Regions from separate parts of the Homo sapiens genome. Here regions 1 and 2 are each linked to region 3. The links are contacts of gene promoters, found by promoter capture Hi-C in blood cells and fetal thymus (Javierre and others, 2016). All regions are on one chromosome and are shown on one strand. The core of a region is centred on a gene start or on the middle of the fragment in contact, and the rest is flanking DNA. Distances in the headings are between cores, read along the strand shown. Region 1 has its middle 37 kb from the start of UCHL1. Region 2 has its middle 14 kb from the start of UCHL1. Region 3 holds the start of LIMCH1-AS1 (LIMCH1 antisense RNA 1).

Region 1 (3,101 bases), core at 265-2,764, 400 kb before region 3:
TCACCAACACTTATCTTCTGTTTTTTTTTTTTTGAAAAATGTTAAAGTAATCATCCTAGTGGGTATGGAGGTGCTATCTCATTGTGGTTTTGATTTGCGTTTTCCTAATGATTAGTGATATTGAGCATCTTTATATGTCATACATAAAAAGAATGAAAAGGTAACCTATACAATGAGAGAAAATATTTGCAAATCATATGTCTGATAAAGGGTTAAAATATATAGGGTTAATTCACTCATCTATAAAGGGTTAATTCACTCATATAGATGTCTTTTCTTTTCTTTTCTTTTCTTTTTTTTTTTTTTTTTTTTTGAGACGGAGTCTTGCTCTGTCACCCAGGCTGAAGTGCAGTGGTGCGATCTCGGCTCACTGCAAGCTCCACTTCCTGGGTTCATGCCATTCTCCTTCCTTAGCCTCCTGAGTAGCTAGGACTACAGGTGCCCACCACAACTCCCGGCTAATTTTGTTTTTGTATTTTTAGTAGAGACAGGGTTTCACCATGTTAGCCAGGATGGTCTCGATCTCCTGACCTCATGATCCTCCCACCTCGGCCTCCCAAAGTGCTGGGATTACAGGCATGAGCCACTGTGCCTGGCCTATAGATGTCTTTTCTAAAAAAAGAAAGATAAAGGGTTAATTCACTCATATAGATGTCTTTTCTAAGAAAGAAAGAGAGAGAGAAAGAGAAAGAAAAGAAAGAAAGAAAGAAAGAAAGAAAGAAAGAAAGAAAGAAAGAAAGAAAGAAAGAAAAGAAAAGAAAAGAAAAGAAAAGAGAAAAGAAAAGAGGGAGAGAAGGAGGGAGGAAAGAAAAGAAAAGAAACCAGAATGCCAGAATGGCATAGAGCCATGTGAGGTTGCACTTAATGGACTGCAGAGTAGCAGCACGAGAGTCCCCCATGGGATGCATTAACAAGGCTTTCTGGAGGGCAGGAATCCTGAGTGGTCCCAAACTTGACTGTACATTGTAATCAACTGGAATGCCTTAAGGAGTCCCAATGTGTGGGTTCCACCACAGGGATTCTCATTTATTCAGTTGGGGTACAGCCTGGGCATCTGTATGTTTTAGAAGTTCCCAGATGAGAGATGAAAGTGTTCTGGAACTAGACAGTGGTGATGGCTGTATATTCTGAACGTATTAGAACAGATTATATGTCACTAATGGTAAATGCTATGTTTGTGTATTTTACCACACACACAAAAGTTCCCTGATGATGCTATGGGCAAGACAAAGTTGACAATCAACAAAGCTTTGTTGCCATTTCTCAGATAATAAGAATCAAGTGGAAGTCTTTGTTAAATAAATAGATTGCCAGACCTCAAAGCCAGGAAGTCTCATTCTGTTTATCTGGATGGGGGCAAAGGAATCTGTGCTTTCAAATAGAACACCAGGTAATTCTTCTTTCTTTTTTTGAGATGGAGTCTCTGTTGCCCAGGCTGGAGTACAGTGGCATGATCTCGGTTCACTGCAACCTCTGCCTCCCAGGTTCAAGCGATTCTCCTGCCTCAGCCTCCCGAGTAGCTGAGACTACAGGCCCGTGCCACCACACCCGGCTAATTTTTTTAGTAGAGACGGGGTTTCACGGTGTTAGCCAGGATGGTCTCAAAATTCTGACCTCGTGATCCACCTGCCTCAGCCTCCCAGAGTGCTGGGATTACAAGCATGAGCCACCGTGCCCGGCCAACACCAAGTAATTCTTATACAAGAGAAGTTTGGGAAACCCAGATATACCCAGTGCTTCCCAAGCCTGCTCAATTGTAAGAATCACCAGGGGATCCTGTTAAGCTTCCAAATCTATTGATAGGCCCATCTAGACTTTTTTTTTTTTTTTTTTGAGACAGAGTCTCACTCTATCACCCAGGCTGGAGTGCAGTGGTGCAACCTTGGCTCACTGCAACCTCCACCTTCTGGGTTCAAGCGATTCTCCTGCCTCAGCCTCCCAAAGTGCTAGGATTACAGGTGTGAGCCACTGAGCCTGGCCCATCCAGACCTATTAAACTTGGATCTCCAGAGGAAGGCTGGGACTTGGTGGACTTAATATGCTACCCAGCTAATTCTCCTGACCAGGCACACTTGAGAAACACCATCTAGTCTAGCCCTCAGTGTTGGCTATTCTACAAAACCTCCTTAAAGAAAAAATCAAATTCCTTACTCCCAGAGATGCTAATTCTGGGTGGGGCCCAAGTATCCAAAGTTTATTATTTTTTGTTTTATAAGCTACCATCCCTGAGTTTGAGGAATAACTGAAATGAATCACTGTTGCAGCCATTCTTTTGGAAAGCAAATTGTGCTCATGTTTCATGGTTACTTATTGAGTCCTTGAGCATGTGCAGTTCTACACAGCAGTATATCCAGAAGCTGAGAATTAGAAAGGTAAGGGTGTCTCAGCCTGCTGTAAGGGAGATGGCTGTGCTTTAGTCAGGAGTAGTCTGAGGAAGCCTTCTGGTGCAGCATAACTCAGCAGGTTTGGAGTGCAGGTGCACAACTCCACACAGTATTTAACCATGCCATGTCAGGCACATTATGTAACCACGCCACGTAAGGTGCATTAGGTGATCACCCATGTGAGCTCATGCTTGGCTTGGAGTCACTATTGCCTGTAAAAGGTATAATTACCCTGCTGACACTGTACATATGGCTCATGCCCAGGGAGAGAATGTACATACAGCTCGTGCCCACAGCTCATGCCTAGGCTCGCTTGTGCCAGAGAGAGGGTAAAAGCCATGTTGAAACTGTCTACAATTCCTCGAATGTTTTTCCAGCTACCTGCCACCCCACTGACTCCCCTCGGACCTCAGTTAGAACCTAACACCTGCCCGTGAAGTAGCTGGGAACAAGTCATGGAAGCAGGAAGAAAAGGATTGAGATGCACAAAGAGTAAAGAAAGAGAATCCTCGGTGACAGCTTGCTGTCATGTGGGGCGAAACAGAGATCCCTGGTGAGCTTTGACATCTCCTCCAAGGGGCCTGGTTGGCAGAGTGTCCAGGGTTGGGTCTTGGGGGAAGTCTCTGGTGGGCTGTGTCCATTCTCTATCTATCTGGATCCTAAGCTAATTAAAGGAAGCTGCTGTAGCCTTCCTCCAAGCCAAGGAGCTCTATGATT
Region 2 (2,930 bases), core at 406-2,905, 420 kb before region 3:
ATTTGGAATTCTTTTGGGAGAGTTGTCTTTTTTCTCCTATGTAACCATTTTTATCAGTATGAACTCATATCATATACTGTGGATTTATGTTATAATCCAGTACTACCTGTTGCCCACATTGTTCTGCTTTAGTTGTTGGGAGCTCTTTCAGTTGGCTCCTATGTTGCTTTGACATACCCCAATCAGTGTAGCATGTTTTGTTTTTCTTAGCAATTCCTTACTGTCTAGAAATTAGTTTTTTTTTTTAAAAAAGCAAAAGTCTTTGGCATTTGTTGTTAAGCTTTACTTTATAGATCAATGTGCCCTTGTTTTATAGATAAGGATACACTATTATGTAATGTATAGGTTTTCATTAAATATTAAAGGAGGACGTCTGTTCTCAACAATGGACGTTGAATGTAACAGTTCACTTCCAGTTACACAAAATGAGGGAAGCAGGGAAGAAACCCAATGCTTCCTGCCTATACTGTGATCCTCACAAAAGGGCTCTGTCCTGTCTGGTGCCAGGAATCCAGATAACTTGGGTCTCAACTGCCTTATTCACAGTTCTCTAAGCCCTGATTATGGTGGTAATATTCCTGATTCCAACTTTTTTTTTTTGGGGGGGGGGCATAATTTACAGAAAATTTATTCATGTATTCAAATTATCTGCAATTTCTTTTTTTTAAAAATTATTATACTTTAAGTTTTAGGGTACATGTGCACAACATGCAGGTTTGTTACATATGTATACATGTGCCATGTTGGTGTGCTGCACCCATTAACTTGTCATTTAGCATTAGCTATATCTCCTAATGCTATCCCTCCCCCCTCCCCCAACCCCACAACAGTCCCCGGTGTGTGATGTTCCCCTTCCTGTGTCCATGTGTTCTCATTGTTCAGTTCCCACCTATGAGTGAGAACATGCGGTGTTTGGTTTTTTGTCCTTGTGATAGTTTGCTGAGAATGATGGTTTCCAGCTTCATCCATGTCCCTACAAAGGACATGAACTCATCATTTTTTATGGCTGCATAGTATTCCATGGTGTATATGTGCCACATTTTCTTAATCCAGTCTATCATTGTTGGACATTTAGGTTGGTTCCAAGTCTTTGCTATTGTGAATAGTGCCACAATAAACATACGTGTGCATGTGTCTTTATAGCAGCATGATTTATAATCCTTTGGGTATATACCCAGTAATGGGATGGCTGGGTCAAATGGTATTTCTAGTTCTAGATCCCTGAGGAATGGCCACACTGACTTCCACAATGGTTGAACTAGTTTACAGTCCCACCAACAGTGTAATAGTGTTCCTACTTCTCCACATCCTCTCCAGCACCTGTTGTTTCCTGACTTTTTAATGATTGCCATTCTAACTGGTGTGAGATGGTATCTCGTTGTGGTTTTGATTTGCATTTCTCTGATGGCCAGTGATGATGAGCATTTTTTCATGTGTTTTTTGGCTGCATAAATGTCTTCTTTTGAGAAGTGTCTGTTCATATCCTTCACCCACTTTTTGATGGTGTTGTTTGTTTTTTTCTTGTCAATTTGTTTGAGTTCATTGTAGATTCTGGATATTAGCCCTTTGTCAGATGAGTAGGTTGTGAAAATTTTCTCCCATTCTGTAGGTTGCCTGTTCACTCTGATGGTATTTTCTTTTGCTGTGCAGAAGCTCTTTAGTTTAATTAGATCCCATTTGTCAATTTTGTCTTTTGTTGCCATTGCTTTTGGTGTTTTAGACATGAAGTCCTTGCCCATGCCTATGTCCTGAATGGTATTGCCTAGGTTTTCTTCTAGGGTTTTTATGGTTTTAAGTCTAACATGTAAGTCTTTAATCCATCTTGAATTAATTTTTGTATAAAGTGTAAGGAAGGGATCCAGTTTCAGCTCTCTACATATGGCTAGCCCGTTTTCCCAGCACCATTTATTAAATAGGGAATCCTTTCCCCATTGCTTGTTTTTGTCAGGTTTGTCAAAGATCAAATAGTTGTAGATATGCGGCATTATTTCTGAGGGCTCTGTTCTGTTCCATTGGTCTATATCTCTGTTTTGGTACCAGTACCATGCTGTTTTGGTTACTGTAGCCTTGTAGTATAGTTTGAAGTCAGGTAGCATGATGCCTCCAGCTTTGTTCTTTTGGCTTAGGATTGACTTGGTGATGCGGGCTCTTTTTTCATTCCATATGAACTTTAAAGTAGTTTTTTCCAATTCTGTGAAGAAAGTCATTGGTAGCTTGATGGGGATGGCATTGAATCTATAAATTACCTTGGGTAGTATGGCCATTTTCACGATATTGATTCTTTCTACCCATGAGCATGGAATGTTCTTCCATTTGTTTGTATCCTCTTTTATTTCATTGAGCAGTGGTTTGTAGTTCTCCTTGAAGAGGTCCTTCACATCCCTTGTAAGTTGGATTCCTAGGTATTTTATTCTCTTTGAAACAATTGTGAATGGGAGTTCACTCATGATTTGGCTCTCTGTTTGTCTGTTATTGGTGTATAAGAATGCTTGTGATTTTTGCACATTGATTTTGTATCCTGAGACTTTGCTGAAGTTGCTTATCAGCTTAAGGAGATTTTGGGCTGAGACAATGGGGTTTTCTAGATATACAATCATGTCATCTGCAAACAGGGACAATTTGACTTCCTCTTTTCCTAATTGAATACCCTTTATTTCTTTCTCTTGCCTGATTGCCCTGGCCAGAGCTTCCAACACTAAGTTGAATAGGAGTGGTAAGAGAGGGCATCCCTGTCTTGTGCCAGTTTTCAAAGGGAATGCTTCCAGTTTTTGTCCATTCAGTATGATATTGGCTGTGGGTTTGTCATAGATAGCTCTTATTATTTTGAGATACATCCCATCAATACCTAATTTATTGAGAGTTTTTAGCATGAAGCGTTGTTGAATTTTGTCAAAGGCCTTTTCTGCATCTATTGAGATGATCATGTGTTT
Region 3 (2,826 bases), core at 74-2,573:
CGGTGGCTCATGCCTGTAATCCCAGCACTTTGGGAGGCCAAGGTGGGCAGATAACCTGAGGTCAGAAGTTCGAGACCAGCCTGGCCAACATGGTGAAACTCCATCTTTACTAAAAATACAAAAAAAAAAAAAAAAAAAAAATAGCCAGGCGTGGTGGCACACGCCTGTAATCCCATCTACTCAGGAGGCTGAGGCAGGAGAATTGCTTGAGCCCAGGAAGTGGAGGTTGCAGTGAGCTGAGATCATGCCATTGCACTCCAGCCTGGCCTACAGAGCGAGACACTGTCTTAAAAAATAAATAAAATAAACAAATGGAACAGGTACTTCCTAGAAATTTTGATCTGGTAGAACTTAGCAACGATGCTGGCAAGCCTTTAAAGATTATTGATGGACACATTTCAATTGATAACTCATTGGCCATGTGTTTATTTAAAGCCACTAGGGTTTAATGTGTTTAAAATGGTTCTTCCATTTTGATTGAGAAACGGTGTATGATAGAGGTTAAGACGCTAGGCTTTGGAGTCAACCTGCTACCACTTATCAGCTCCACAACCTAGGAACAAGCCAACAAACCTCACTGAACCAGTGTCCTTCTCTGTAAAATGCAAGGAATTAAGCTAAAATTGCTAACTGTATATTTGCTTTTGCTGTAAGTTGACACTGGTGCAGCATCTTACACATAATAGATGCTCCACAAATGTGGTGATTGTAGAAGGGATTATTGTGCTATTCACATAAACAGTAACTAAGCATTAGAAAGAAACAATTCCTTATGCATCTTATGATGTCTGTTCTTTTTACCCTATAGTGTGGAATTTGTAAAGGCCAGCTTGGAGATGCAGTGAGTGGGACGGATGTTAGGATTCGAAATGGTCTCCTGAACTGTAATGATTGCTACATGCGATCCAGAAGTAAGTACTGGGGAGAATGCCTCATGATGACCGAGTGTAATCGTATGTCTTCCATAGGACCCAATTTAGGAATTCAAATATTTTTCCCCAGCCGTTGACACTCTAATCTGAGAGAAAGGTTTCTTAACATCTAGGTTAAAAAAGAAAAGATATTTACCACTCGTTTCTTCCTGGAAGTTATTGCTACAATGTGGACCAATTCTTTTTATCCTGAAGTGCATCAGCACACCAGCAGGTCAAAACATTGCCTGAGCTCACTACAGAGATTTTGGTGTGATAGAAAGGAGATATAAGGTCTGTCAAACACTGTCACTTGTTCAGGCATGTCTTTAGACGACTGGCACCATTTGGGGATGGTTAAATGTGGAGAGCGGCTCTCCACTGTTTCTCAGATCGAGCACCAACTCATCAATGTCTCCACGCCCTACATTCAGGAGTTTCATTACGTCATATGTGTTCCCAACTGAATGGAAAGTTCCTTGAGAGACAACAATGAGGGTTCCACTTCTCTGTGGATTCTTCCCCACCTCCCACCTCTACAATATCTTAGTAACAATATGCGCTTAACAAATTATTTGCTGCCTTAGTAAGTGAGAAGCCTGCTTGCTTTCCCGTCTTGCATCCGGGCCTCCTACTGTGGAAGGTGCATGTTAGTTTGCGGGGCAGCAGGGGGTGCTGTTGCCTAGCCGCTGTTTAGAAAATCTGAAAATGGCCAGTGGCTTGCCTCGGAATGTTTCCTCATTCTCCATCATGAGTACAGTCCTTCTGGTGGGTCACCTAGACAGCAGAAGACCTTTTAGTGCAGATTCATCAGTCAGAAACTCTTTTAAAAAATTGGAGTGAAGATAGGGAGTGTGAAATTCAAGAATGACTATTTCTCAAAGTGAAGTCACGTTTTTACTGCCTTTTTACATGGATCTCAAATCTCTGCAAGACTGAAAACTTTGAGAATAAAAATTGAAGGTAATTTGTTTTATAGCTATAGATTTAGTAAATTCAGTTAAATATGCCTATTAATAAAATGGGAAATAAAAATTTAATCAAACCCAGGTAGTTTAGATTTATAATAAATATTTGACTTGAGATCAAAACAGTTCCAACTTAGAGCCGCTGCTATCAAACTGGACTATTTAGATCATGCATGATATTAGTTTTTATACTATGTATTTTATATATTAAATTATATAAATAGTATACCATATATCATAAATATATACACACAAATTAACATATATAGTACATGTATAATAGGTAATAATTATATACATTTTATTTAAACTGGACTTTTGCTTTTATATGCTAACAAGGAAAACAACTCTTTTCTCCCAGATTTCAATGCGAATTTTCCTATCGTCTTCTATAAATTATTCTTTTTCTCTACCTCAGTGAACCACAGTGAATGTAATTTATGGAACCAGAAGAGGGCACTGTTAGGTTGAAGGACTGCTCAGAAAGATTTGAAAAGTGCTGTAGATCTGAGTTTGTTTAATAATTTAAAGTGCTTGAAGGATGCCAACAGAACAACCTGAACCCCCCTCTGGGTGACAGTGACCTCTTTTCATCTAGATTTTTTTAAATTGAGAGGTTGGGTGATTCTTTGTCATTTCTTTTGGAAATTAGCTTTTTAATTCAAGACCAGGAATTTTTCTCTTAAATATACAAATATAAAGGGCATTAACTGCTTTTAATTTCAAAACCATGGAGTTCCTGTAATCAGCTGAAAAATAAGAAAGTGATTTGGAGGTAGGCCACAAAAATGATTTTTTCTTTATTTTATATGTGAAATGCAGTGTTTTACCAGGATTTACCATAGAAAACAAGGCCCATTGTTTTCTCTGCTTCTATAGACATTCAATGAATAAATAAAAGTTACAGATGCTATAATGTTAGAAAAATTGAATTGTTCAGAAAGACA

Evidence for each region. The method cuts DNA at HindIII sites, captures the fragments that hold promoters and counts their contacts. A CHiCAGO score of 5 or more calls a contact.
Region 1: a fragment that was not itself captured here is called in contact with the fragment with the promoter of LIMCH1-AS1 in region 3 in 6 of 17 cell types (M1 macrophages, M2 macrophages, monocytes and 3 more); the score reaches 7.5 in M1 macrophages.
Region 2: a fragment that was not itself captured here is called in contact with the fragment with the promoter of LIMCH1-AS1 in region 3 in 4 of 17 cell types (M0 macrophages, M2 macrophages, monocytes and 1 more); the score reaches 7.1 in M0 macrophages.

Annotation. Positions count from the first base shown.
Region 1 is chr4:41,292,168-41,295,268 of GRCh38, forward strand. No RefSeq gene overlaps it. Among named protein-coding and RNA genes, the nearest start is that of UCHL1, 37 kb to the left of the region's middle. The HindIII fragment of the contact is 536 bases long and covers 1,247-1,782 here.
Region 2 is chr4:41,269,766-41,272,695 of GRCh38, forward strand. No RefSeq gene overlaps it. Among named protein-coding and RNA genes, the nearest start is that of UCHL1, 14 kb to the left of the region's middle. The HindIII fragment of the contact is 2,755 bases long and covers 279-2,930 here.
Region 3 is chr4:41,691,474-41,694,299 of GRCh38, forward strand. It overlaps LIMCH1-AS1 (LIMCH1 antisense RNA 1), which reads right to left and starts at 1,324. Exons shown (of 3, transcript XR_002959789.2): 1 at 1,069-1,324. LIMCH1 (LIM and calponin homology domains 1) reads left to right here. Exons shown (of 32, transcript NM_001330672.2): 31 at 809-911. The HindIII fragment of the contact is 18,346 bases long and covers 1-2,826 here.